2 separate regions of the Homo sapiens genome follow, and region 2 is linked to region 1. The links are contacts of gene promoters, found by promoter capture Hi-C in blood cells and fetal thymus (Javierre and others, 2016). All regions are on one chromosome and are shown on one strand. Each heading gives the region's core, a stretch centred on a gene start or on the middle of the fragment in contact. The rest is flanking DNA. Distances are from core to core; before and after follow the strand shown. Region 1 holds the start of BCAS3 (BCAS3 microtubule associated cell migration factor). Region 2 holds the start of SMG8 (SMG8 nonsense mediated mRNA decay factor).

What was found. Contacts are between HindIII fragments. The CHiCAGO score rates a contact against its expected background, and 5 or more counts as called.
Region 2: a contact is called between the fragment with the promoter of SMG8 here and the fragment with the promoter of BCAS3 in region 1, in 1 of 17 cell types (neutrophils). The highest score is 5.5, in neutrophils.

Annotation. Positions count from the first base shown.
Region 1 is chr17:60,674,010-60,680,267 of GRCh38, forward strand. It overlaps BCAS3 (BCAS3 microtubule associated cell migration factor), which reads left to right and starts at 3,842. Exons shown (of 24, transcript NM_017679.5): 1 at 3,842-3,905; 2 at 5,444-5,531. The coding sequence starts at 5,449. RefSeq lists a silencer at 3,222-3,975 and enhancers at 3,394-3,563, 3,734-3,883. The HindIII fragment of the contact is 12,302 bases long and covers 557-6,258 here.
Region 2 is chr17:59,204,882-59,211,367 of GRCh38, forward strand. SMG8 (SMG8 nonsense mediated mRNA decay factor) reads left to right here and starts at 5,154. Exons shown (of 4, transcript NM_018149.7): 1 at 5,154-6,486. The coding sequence starts at 5,171. It overlaps PRR11 (proline rich 11), which reads left to right. Exons shown (of 10, transcript NM_018304.4): 10 at 1-1,828. RefSeq lists an enhancer at 4,963-5,032. The HindIII fragment of the contact is 12,029 bases long and covers 1-6,168 here.

The sequences.
Region 1 (6,258 bases), core at 2,592-5,091:
AGGTTCTCGCCATTCTCTGCCTCAGCCTACCGAGTAGCTGGGACTACAAGCGCCAGCCACCACGCCTGGCTAATTTTTTGTATTTTTAGTAGAGATGGAGTTTCACCATTAGGATGGTTTCGATCTCCTGACCTCATGATCCGCCCTCCTCGGCCTCCCAACGTGTTGGGATTACAGGCCTGAGCCACCGCGCCCCGCCCATATTATTCCTTCTACAATTTACAAAGGATGAAACAATGAAGGCACAGAAATTTACCAAGAAATGTAAAACTCAGCTAGTGTTCATCCTATTTGTAAATGGCACCACTCAGCTGATCAAGCCCAAAACACAGAAAACATCTTTTTTTTTTTTCCTCTAACACCTTTAAGGTTTCTTGGATTTGAACATCCTTGATTCTTTCCCTTTGGGTCCGGAGTTGGTTCCTTCCGGTGGATTCGTGGTCTGACTTCAAGAACGAAGCCGAGGACCTTCTCGTTGAGTGTTATAGCTCTTAAAGGTGGCATGGACCCAAAGAATGAGCAGCAGCAAGATTTATTGTAAAGAAGGAAACAACAAAGCTTTTAGCTTTCCACAGAGTGGAAGGGGCCTGGAGCAGGTTGCCGCTGCTGGGGGGAGTGGCCAGCTTTTATTCCCTTATTGTCCCCGCCCATGTTCCGTTTCTGTCCTAGCACAGTGCCCTTTCTTCAATCTTCCCCACGATTGGCTTTTAGACTCCTGCTGATTGGTACGTTTTACAGAGCACTGATTGGTGCATTTTACAGAGCACTGATTGGTGCATTTTACAGAGTGCTGATTGGTGCATTTTACAATCCTCTTGCTAGCTACAGAGCGTTGATTGGTGCGTTTTTACAGATCACTGAATGGTGCATTTTACAATCCCCTTGCTAGCTACAGAGTGCTGATTGGTGCACCTTACAATCCCCTTGCTAGCTACAGAGTGCTGATTGGTGCGTTTTCCAATCCTAGCTACAGAGTGCTGACTGGTGTGTTTTACAATCCTCTCCTAAGACAGAAAAGTTCTCCAAGTCCCCACTCTACCCAGGAAGTCCAGCTGGCTTCACCTCTCACCTTCATCCTGTAACCGAGTCCTAACTTGTTCTGCTCACTGCATGACAGCCAAGGGGTGAAGAGTCAAGGAGTTAGAGCAAGGATAGTAACTTTATTTCTGAGAGCTAGCAAACCCGGAAAATTGCAGAATAATGTACTAAAGAACCATCTTTTTGGCTGGGCATGGTGGCTCACGCCTGTAATTCCAGCACTTTGGGAGGCCAGGGCGGGTGGAACATGAAGTCAGGAGTTCAAGACCAGCCTGGCCAAAATGGTGAAACCCCGTCACTACTAAAAATGCAAAGAATTAGCCAGGAGTGGTGGCGGGTGCCTGTAATCCCAGCTACTCAGGATGCCGAGGCAGAAGAATCGCTTTAACCCGCGAGGTGGACGTTGCAGTGAGCCAAGATTGAGACACTGCACTCCAGCCTGGTGACACAGTGAGACTCCATCTCAAAAAAAAAAAAAAGTTGGAGTCTTGCTCTGTCGCCCAGGCTGGAGTGCAGTGCCTTGATCTTGGCTCACTGCAACCTCCACCTCCCGGGTTTAAGTGATTCTCCTGTCCCAGCCTCCCGAGTAGCTGGGACTACAGGCGCACACCACCACGTCCAGCTAATTTTTGTATTTTTAGTAGAGACGGGGTTTCTCCATGTTGGTCAGTCTGGTCTTGAACTCCTGATCTCAGGTGATCCACCTATTTCGGCCTCCCAAAGTGCTGGGATGAGAGGTGTGAGCCATCACACCCAGCCTGAAGAACCATCTTAAGTTAGTACACATTTCAGGCTCTTTTTGTGTTAAGGGCAGGGGGAAGAAGAGAGGGTTTGAATCAAGGGGTGACTGATGACCGTAGACATCTGGGCGCCAGCAAGGGTTCCTCGAGGCCTGAAGCCTCTCTGTTACTGGTCAGGTCACAATACTTTCTCAAACTCTCAACATTGTTACTTGTGTGTACACCCTCCTTTTCTCCTTGGGGGTTAGTTTTGGGAAGGGACTATTATCATCCTTGCTTTAAAGTTAAACTATAAATTCCTCCCTTGGTTAGCTTAGTCTATGTGCAGAGATAAGCAAAAGCAGTTAACTTAGATATCACCGATGGGTGGGAGTGGGGAGTTTAGGAGCAAAATGGAGTTAGTCATGCTAGGCCTCCTTTTCAATGTTACAATTCCACATTATCAAGTTATTTCAATCCCACATTATCAAGTTATTTCAATATTTCCAAATATATTCTTCTTCTTCTTCTTCTTCTTTTTTTTTTTTTGAGCGAGAGTTTTGCTCTGTCGCCCAGAGGCTGGAGTGCAGTTGCACGATCTCGGCTCACTGCAACCTTCACATCTCGGATTCAAGCGATTCTCCTGCCTCAGCCTCCTGAGTAGTTGGGATTACAGGCGTGCACCATCAAAACCCGCTGATTTTTGTATTTTTAGTAGAGACAGAGTTTCACAAAGTTGGCAAGGCTGGTCTTGACCTCCTGACCTCAAGTGATCTGCCCCTCTCAGCCTCCCAAAGTGCTGGGATTACAGGTGTGAGCCACCGTGCCCGGCCTTTTCTTTCATTTCTTTTTTTAAAATTTTTTAAAATTTTATGTATGTATGTATGTATGTATGTATGTATGTATGTATGTATGTATCTATCTATCTATCTATCTATCTATCTATCTATCTATCTATCTGTCTTGAGAGGGACTCTCTGTCACCCAGGCTAAAGTGCTGGAGGGCAATGGCGTGATCTATAGGCTCACTGCAATCTCCGCCTCCTGGGTTCAAGCAATTCTTCCGCCTCAGCCTCCCCAGTAGCTAGGATTACAGGCATTGGCCACCACACCTGGCTATTTTTAGTAGAGACGGGGTTTCTTCATGTTGTCCAGGCTGTTCTAGAACTCCTGGCCTCAAGCGATCTTCCCGCCTAGGCTTCCCAAAATGTTGGGATTGCAGGCGTGAGCCACCACGCCCAGCCCACCACGCCTGTTAATAAGCTATACCCTCACGGACCTGTCATTGGCATTAAATTTGATAATACATTAGAGTATTGTATATGAAGTATACGAAGGCCTGTGCTGAGTGTTCAAGAAGTCAGTCAGTATTATTCTACTTATATTAATAAATGAACTGATGAAATGACAATGGCGAGATCTCGATCTTCAACAATAAGGGAGATGGAAACTGAAGCAAGAAGTGGTCTACAAACCTAGCTCAAATTGTTGAGATTACCGGCCGTGCCCCTTATTCAGATCAACCCCTCCTCGGCTGATCGCCGGCGCGAGCCAGCCTAGGCTCCCGGAAGGTAAACACATCGCCAAGGGCTGGGCAGAAGGCGGGTGTGGGACGGGTGAGTGGCCAGCTAAAAGTGATTGGCAGCTGCCATGTCCACGTGCTCCGAGCTTGGAACCAGCTGTCGCGAGAATTCGATGTAAACAGACCAGTCTCCCTGTCCTCCGGCTCCAACCTGAAACGCTCACGTGAGCGGGACAGGAGTCTGGATCATGTTGCTTTTCTTTTCAAAGCCACGAAGGTTCTGTCTTCCAAAAAAAATGTACATGTTCGTAATTATTCCCCAGCTGCCTGCGTTTGCAACCGAACCTGACACCTCGGCTTCACCCGAACTTACATGCTGTTGTGTTTTCCCTCCAGCCCCAGCGGATTGGACACATTCAGAAGGCGGGTCCGCCTCTTTCCTACTTGCTGGTTGGCGAAGCTGACCTCCAAGGGCGGTGCCCGGCCATAGCCGGTTTGCTTCTGGGATTGGCTAGAGGGGGTGGTTCCGCTGAGGCGTGGTAGGAAGTGGCTGCCGTCAATCACTCGGGGAGACTCCAAACAGTGAGCCTAGAGCTGGAGACTAGCGTTAACCGGCGGGGCGGCCGGTGAGAGGGCTGGCAGGGCTTTGGCTTTGGGGAGGCTTGGGGAGGACGAGGGACTGGCGGCGTGAGGGGACTGGGTCGGGCTGGCAGGAATTCGACAGGAGAGAGGTGTCGATACTGGAGGGGGAGGGGAACAGTGCAAGGGGCCGGAGGGCGGCCGGGGGCAGCGGTGGCTCCGTGTTGGAGGTTAAGTGGGCAGCGCCGTACGAGTGTCTTTCAGGAGACTGGGGCCTGAGTGGCTGGCGAGGGTCGTCCCCAGGAGACAGGGCCCTTAAAGGGCAGGGCTTGGGAGACTGTGGTTCGAGAAAGCAAGAATGGGATGAGAATGAGAGGGCTGAGGGGCTGGAGGTGCAGGTATCCTCTGAGGAGGTGGTGGCTCTGCTCCTTGGGGCAGAGGGTGTTTTGGTTGTAGGAGGTGGGGCGCACAGGTTTAGAGTTTTCACATCAGGTGTGAATGCTCCCTACTTAAAAATGGTTTTCGGTGCCTTCAAGATGAGTTCCAGGTTGTGGGCTTCCCTGAGCCCTGTAAGAGATCTTTGATATTGCTGTCAGTCCTCTTTTAACCTTAACCAAGCCGACTCCATGCTCTTAAAATCTCAGTGATTCAGAGGGTCATGAAACATTCTAGGATCAGGATTTACTGATGTGACGGGAAAGGGTAAAGGGCTGTAACAACGTATTAGTTTATGTTAGTTATTTGACTACTTGCTACTAGTCAAATAATTACTTGACTTATTTGTTATAGTAGCAGGGGGTTACGAATGTGATTTAAATTGTGATTTACTCATAGATTCCCAACAGGTTTAATTGGAAGGTAGAGTGATATCATGTCACTTGTTCCGTTTGGTCTTGAAATATTGTACCATGTGTATTTTCACTATCTCAACATAAAATTGCAGTAAATTCCCATCCCATGATCTGGTTCTCTCACCCTTGTAATTTATGTTAACAACAGACCAAGGGGTACAGCAGGAGTCTTCCTTACATTGTTTTGTGGTTCTGAGACCTGGTCCTATTAAAAAACAAAACAGGATGGGCGCGGTGGCTCAAGCCTATAATCCCAGCACTTTGGGAGGCTAAGGCGGATGGATTGCTTGAGCTCAGGAGTTCGAGACCAGCCTTGGCAACATGGTGAAACCCCGTCGCTACAAAAAAATATAAAATTTAGCTCGGCATGGTGGCGCTCGCCTGTAATCCCAGCTACTCAGGAGGCTGAGGCAGGAGAATTGCTTGAGCCTGGGAGGCGGAGATTGCCATGAGCAGAGATCGTGCCACTGAACTCCAGCCTGGGCGACAGAGCGAGACTCTATCTCAAAAATAATAATAACCCCCCAAACCCCTCATTATAATTTGAAAAAAATTAAAAACCTACTTCCTCCTTTTTTCCCTTTCTGGTGTAACAGGAATTTCTGGGAAAGTTTCCTACATTTGAGGCATTTTTGACAAGGGATCTCTAGTGAGTAATCATAAATCTTCCTCCCTACCCCCAACAACGATCCATGTTTTTCTGTTTTTTGTTTGTTTGTTTGTTCTGGAAACAGGTTTTATGAATGAAGCTATGGCTACAGATTCCCCAAGAAGACCCAGTCGTTGTACTGGTGGAGTTGTGGTTCGCCCCCAGGCTGTCACGTAAGCACATTTCAGATAAACCCAATAGCTGAAGAAAAGATTACTCAGAATACTAACATTTAGGTTTTCTTTATGAACAGTGGTTACTTTTGTAAAAATCTTTTAACTGTTGGCTTTATGGGATGAATAATAATAATTGCCAAGACCAAATGAAGAATTGGAGAGTTAAGTTGACGTATTCAGCACATTTACAGAGTACGTGAAGAGCACTATGCTAAATCCTGAAGAGCAGTGTTTTCAAACTCCAGGTTTAACAAATTAGTGGATTGTTAAATCAGTTTAGTGGGTCAGGAGTTGTAGTAGAAAATGAAATAGAGGCCGGGCGCAGTGGCTCATGCCTGTAATCCCAGCACTTTGGGAGGCCCAGGCAGGCGGATCACGAGATCAGGAGATCGAGACCATCCTGGCTAAAACGGTGAAACCCTGTCTCTACTAAAAATACAAAAAATTAGCCGGGTATGGTGGCCCCTGTAGTCCCAGCTACTCGGGAGGCTGAGTCAGGAGAATGACGTGAACCTGGGAGGTGGAACTTGCAGTGAGCTGAGATCGCGCCACTGCACCCTAGCCTGGGCGACACAGCAAGACTCTGTCTCCAAAAAAAAAAAAAAAAAGAAAGAAAATGAAATAGAATATAATAGAAAATTAGAAAATATAGCTGAGAGTTTGTATTGTTTCATGACATGCACATAAATATGTTCATGTGTATGTATATATTTACCAGACAGTG
Region 2 (6,486 bases), core at 3,904-6,403, 1.5 Mb before region 1:
GCCGGGAGCGGTGATGTGTGCCTGTAGTCCCAGCTACTCAGGAGACTGAGGTGGGAGAATCACTTGAGCCTGGGAGGTTGAGGCTGCAGTGAGCTGTGTTTATACCACTGCACTCCAGCCTGCTGGGTAACAGAGCAAGACTCCATCTCAAAAAGAAAAGAAAAAATGCTTTGCTACATAATGAGGCCAGGCAAAAAAAAAAAAGTCCTGTGGAAATCATATAGACAAACATTTGCAAAGCTGCTACTGCCATTGTACCAGTGTTAAACTGTGTTCTACCTTGCATCTTTTACTGATTTTTATGACAGATTTTATATTGTAACCATTCGAGAACTCTGTAAGTGCTATGGCTTCCTTAAACTACGATTTATCATATGCTCCCGGTGTTTACTTTGAGACTGAATGGCAACCAGAGAATGTAAACAACCAAGGTGCATCTGGTTATGTTTTAAAATAAAGATTAATAAAAGTTTTGGTTTTTCTCTTTCTAACCTTCTTTTTAAACTAGAAATATAATACCTATAGAAAAGTAAATGTTGGCCGGGTGCGGTGGCTCATGCCTATAATCCCAGCACTTTGGGAGGCCGAGGCAGGCAGATCACCTGAGGTCAAGAGTTCGAGACCAGTCTGGCCAACATGGTGAAACCCTGTCTCTACTAAAAATACAAAAATTAGCCGGGCATAGTGGCAGACACCTGTAATCCCAGCTACTGGGAAGGCTGAGCCAGAATGGCTTGAACCTGGGAGGCAGAGGTTGCAGTGAGCCGAGATCGCCCCATTGCACTCCAGCTTGAGCAACAAGAGCGAAACTGTCTCAAAAAAAAAAAAAAAGTATATGTTAAGTATAGAAAAATATATAAATTAAAAAATTATAGGCTTGGGGGCCAGGCACAGTGGCTCACACCTGTAATCCCAGCACTTTGGGAGGCCGAGGTGGGTGTATCACTTGAGGTCAGGAGTTTGAGACCAGCCTGGCCAACATGGTGAAACCCCGTCTCTACCAAAAAAAATATATAAAAATTATCTGGGTGTGGTGGCATGTGCCTATAGTCTCAGCTTCTCAGAAGACTGAGGCGTGAGAATCACTTGAACGATGGAAGTGGAGGTTGCAGTGAGCTGAGATCACACTACTGCACTACAGTCTGGGCAACAGAGTGAGACCTTGTCTCAAAAAAAAAAGAAAGAAAAAGAAAAATGCTTTATGGCCCAGTGCAGTGGCTCACACCTATAATCCTAGCACTTTGGGAGGCTAAGGCAGGAGGTTCGCTTGAGGCCAAGAGTTCAAAACAAGCCTGGGCAACACTGCAAGACCCCAACTCTACAAAAAACGAAAAATTAGCCGGGAGCGGTGATGTGTGCCTGTAGTCCCAGCTACTCAGGAGACTGAGGTGGAAGAATCACTTGAGCCCGGGAGGTTGAGGCTGCAGTGAGCTGTGTTTATACCACTGCACTCCAGCCTGCTGGGTAACAGAGCAAGACTCCATCTCAAAAAGAAAAGAAAAAATGCTTTGCTACATAATGAGGCCAGGCAAAAAAAAAAAGTCCTGTGGAAATCATATAGACAAACATTTGCAAAGCTGCTACTGCCATTGTACCAGTGTTAAAATGTGTTCTACCTTGCATCTTTTACTGATTTTTATGACAGATTTTATATTGTAACCATTTGAGAACTCTGTAAGTGCTATGGCTTCCTTAAACTACGATTTATCATATGCTCCCAGTGTTTACTTTGAGACTGAATGGCAACCAGAGAATGTAAACAACCAAGGTGCATCTGGTTATGTTTTAAAATAAAGATTAATAAAAGTTTTGGTTTTTCTCTTTCTAACCTTCTTTTTAAACTAGAAATATAATACCTATAGAAAAGTAAATGTTGGCCGGGTGCGGTGGCTCATGCCTATAATCCCAGCACTTTGGGAGGCCGAGGCAGGCAGATCACCTGAGGTCAAGAGTTCGAGACCAGTCTGGCCAACATGGTGAAACCCTGTCTCTACTAAAAATACAAAAATTAGCCGGGCATAGTGGCAGACACCTGTAATCCCAGCTACTGGGAAGGCTGAGCCAGAATGGCTTGAACCTGGGAGGCAAAGGTTGCAGTGAGCCGAGATCGCCCCATTGTACTCCAGCTTGAGCAACAAGAGCGAAACTGTCTCAAAAAAAAAAAAAGTATATGTTAAGTATAGAAAAATATATAAATTAAAAAATTATAGGCTTGGGGGCCAGGCACAGTGGCTCACACCTGTAATCCCAGCACTTTGGGAGGCTGAGGTGGGAGGATCACTTGAGGCCAAGAGTTTGAAACCAGTATGGGCAACATTGCAAGACCCTGTCTCTACAAAAAACAAAAAATTAGCCGGGCATGGTGGCATGTGCCTGTAGTCCCAGCTACTCGGGAGACTGAGGTGGGAGAATCACTTGAGTCCAGGAGGTTGAGGCTCCAGCGAGCAGTGTTCATACCACCTGCACTCCAGCCTGCTGGGTGACAGAGCAAGATGCTGTCTCAAAAAAAAAAAAAAAAAAAAAAGAAAGAAAAAAGAAAAATGCTTTGCTATATAACGAAGCCAGGCAGGAAAAAAAAGTCCATATAGATAAACATTTGCAAAGCTGCTACTGCCATTGTACAGTGTTAAAATGTGTTCTACCTTGCATCTTTAAATAAAGATTAATAAAAGTTTTGGTTTTTCCCTTTTTAACCTTTTTTTTTAACTAGAAATAATAATACCTATAGAAAAGTATATATTGGCCGGGCGCAGTGGCTCACGCCTGTAATCCCAGCACTTTGGGAGCCCAAGGCAGGTGGATCATGAGGTCAGAAGATCAAGACCATCCTGGCTAACACGGTGAAACCTGGTCTCTACTAAAAATACAAAAAATTAGCCGGGCGTGGTGGCAGGCGCCTGTAGTCCCAGCTACTTGGGAGGCTGAGGCAGGAGAATGGCATGAACCCGGGAGGCAGAGCTTGCAGGGAGCTGAGATCACGCCACTGCACTCCAGCCTGGGCAACAGAGTGAGACTCTGTCTCAAAAAAACAAAAAAGTATATAGTAAGTATAGAAAATATATGAATTAAAAAATCAATGCCGAGCGTGATGGCTCAAACCTATAATCCCAGCACTTTGGGAGGCCGGGGTGGGCAGATCACCTGGGGTTGGAAGTTCGAGACCAGCCTGGCTAACGTGGGGAAACCCCATCTCTACTAAAAATACAAGTTTAGGTGGGCGTGGTGGTACGTGCTTGTAATCCCAGCTACTTGGGAGGCTGAGGCAGAAGAATTGCTTGAGGAGACGGAGACAGGGAATAGGAGATGGAGGTTGCCGTGATCCCAGATAGCACCACTGCACTTCAGCCTGGGTGACAGAGTGAGACTCTGTCTCACAAAAAAAAAAAAAAAAAATTTTAGGCCGGAGGCGAGGTGTGGTGGCTGACACCTGTAATCCCAGCACTTTGGGAGGCCGAGGTGGGTGGATGATGTGAGGTCGGGAGTTCGAGACCAGCCTGGCCAACATGGTGAAACACCATCTCTACTAAAAATACAAAAATTAGCCGCCCATGGTGGTGCACCTGTAATCCCAGCTCCTTGGGAGGCTGAGGCAGTAGAATCACTTGAACCTGGGAGGTGGAGTTTGCAGTGAGCTTAGATTGCACCACTGTACTCCACTCTGGGCAACAGAGCAAGACTCTGTCTCAAAATATATATAATATATATTATTATGTATATATATAATATATATTATTATGTATATGTGTAATATATATTATTATGTATATATATAATATATATATTATATCATAATCCCTTCCCTCACTAAGTAATCACTGACCTACTTGGTACAATAAATATTTCCTTGCTTTTAGTAAGAACACACCCCTAAATGCAATGGTTTATTTTGCTTGCTTTTGAACTCTATAGAAATAAAATCAGGCCTGGCGCAGTGGCTCTCGCCTGTAATCCCACCACTTTGGGAGGCCGAGGCGGGCAGATCATGAGATCAGGAGATTGAGACTATCCTGGCCAACATGGTGAAATCCTGTCTCTATTAAAAATACAAAAGTTAGCTGGGTGTGGTCTCACGCACCTGTAATCCCAGCTACTTGGGAGGCTGAGGCAAGAGAATCACTTGCACCGGGGAGCCGGAGGTTGCAGTGAGTCGAGATCGCGCCACTGAACTCTAGCCTGGCCACAGAGCAAGACTGCATCTCCAAAAAAAAAAAAAAAAAAAAAAAAAAATAGAATTATAGGGTATATACACTTTTGTTTCTGATTTCTTTCAATCAACATTTATTTTAAAGATTCAGTCATGTTATTGTATAGTGCTATAGATAATTTTTTTAGATTCAAAGATTTTTATTTTTTACAAAACCCCAGAATAATAAACGTTATAATTATACATTTAAATCTGGTTGTAAGTTTTATCCTGGCAGCTATTTGTCAATATGCCTTCTAGTTAGAGAGGTTCTGCAAGTTATAATTTACATACAAAGATATTTCGCAATTTTTTTTTTTTTTGAGACGGAGTCTCACTCTGTCGCCCAGGCTGGAGTGCAGCGGGGTGATCTCGGCTCACTGCAACCTCCACCTCCTGGTTCGAGCAATTCTCCTGCCTCAGCCTCCTGAGCAGCTGGAACTACAGGTATGCGCCACCACGCCTAATTTTTGCTTTTTTTTTTTTTTTTTTTTTTTTTTTTAGACGGTTTTCGCTCTTGTTGCCCAGGCTGGAGTGCAATGGTGTGATCTCGGTTCACTGCAACTTCCGCCTCCCGGGTTCAAGCGATTGTCCTGCCTCAGCCTCCCGAGTAGCTGGGATTACAGGCGCCCGCCACCACGCCCGGCTAATTTTCGTATTTTTAGTAGAGATGGGGTTTCACCATGTTGGCCAGCCTGGTCTCGAACTCCTGACTTCAGGTGATCCGCCCGCCTTGGCCTCCCAAAGTGCTAGGATTACAGGCGTGAGCCACCGCAGTAGTCCCAGTTTTGTTTTGTTTTTTTGTTTTTTGTTTTTGATATCTCAATTCCTACAGTTGAGGAAACAAACTAGGAGAGGAGAAGAGGAGGCGGAACTCAAGTGACGGGAAAGCAGGAACTGAAGAAGCGGAGGAAGGATTTCAAAATTGGACGAAAGCCGGTCGGTTTTACTAACGGACCGGAAGGACTCTAGAGAACGCTCTGCACTATGGCTGGTCCCGTGAGCTTGCGAGACCTTCTAATGGGAGCATCAGCCTGGATGGGCTCTGAAAGTCCCGGAGGGTCCCCTACTGAGGGCGGAGGGAGCGCGGCTGGCGGACCGGAGCCTCCATGGCGGGAGGATGAGATCTGCGTTGTGGGAATCTTCGGCAAGACGGCTCTACGCCTGAATTCCGAGAAGTTCTCTCTTGTGAATACGGTGTGCGACCGACAGGTCTTTCCTCTCTTTCGCCACCAAGATCCTGGGGATCCAGGACCTGGAATCAGAACTGAGGCTGGCGCCGTGGGTGAGGCCGGTGGAGCCGAGGACCCTGGGGCTGCAGCCGGGGGTTCAGTTCGGGGAAGTGGAGCTGTCGCGGAAGGTAACCGAACTGAGGCAGGCTCCCAGGACTACAGCCTTCTGCAGGCCTACTACAGTCAGGAAAGCAAAGTTCTGTATCTTCTCCTCACCTCCATCTGTGACAATTCACAGCTTCTCCGGGCTTGTCGGGCTCTTCAGAGCGGGGAAGCTGGAGGTGGACTCTCTTTACCTCATGCAGAAGCACACGAGTTCTGGAAGCATCAAGAGAAGCTGCAGTGCCTCAGTCTCCTTTACCTATTCTCTGTCTGTCATATCTTGCTTCTGGTCCATCCCACTTGTTCCTTTGATATCACTTATGATCGAGTATTCAGAGCCCTGGATGGGCTGAGACAGAAGGTCCTGCCGCTCCTTAAAACAGCCATTAAGGATTGTCCAGTTGGCAAAGACTGGAAGCTAAACTGCCGACCTTGCCCACCTAGACTCCTTTTCCTCTTTCAACTCAATGGAGCCCTCAAGGTAGAACCTCCTCGGAACCAAGACCCAGCTCATCCAGACAAGCCCAAGAAACATTCTCCCAAAAGGAGGCTGCAGCATGCCCTGGAGGACCAGATCTATAGAATCTTCCGGAAGAGTCGTGTCTTGACTAATCAGAGCATCAACTGCCTCTTTACTGTGCCTGCCAACCAAGCTTTCGTGTACATAGTACCGGGAAGCCAGGAGGAGGACCCAGTAGGTATGTTGCTGGACCAACTTAGGAGTCATTGTACTGTGAAGGACCCGGAATCTTTGCTGGTGCCTGCACCCCTTTCTGGGCCTAGGCGATACCAGGTGATGAGGCAGCACAGCCGACAACAACTTTCCTTTCACATTGACAGCAGCAGTTCCAGTTCTTCAGGCCAGCTAGTGGATTTCACTCTTCGGGAATTCCTATGGCAGCATGTGGAGCTAGTTCTAAGCAAGAAAGGTTTCGATGACAGTGTGGGCAGGAACCCACAGCCTTCCCA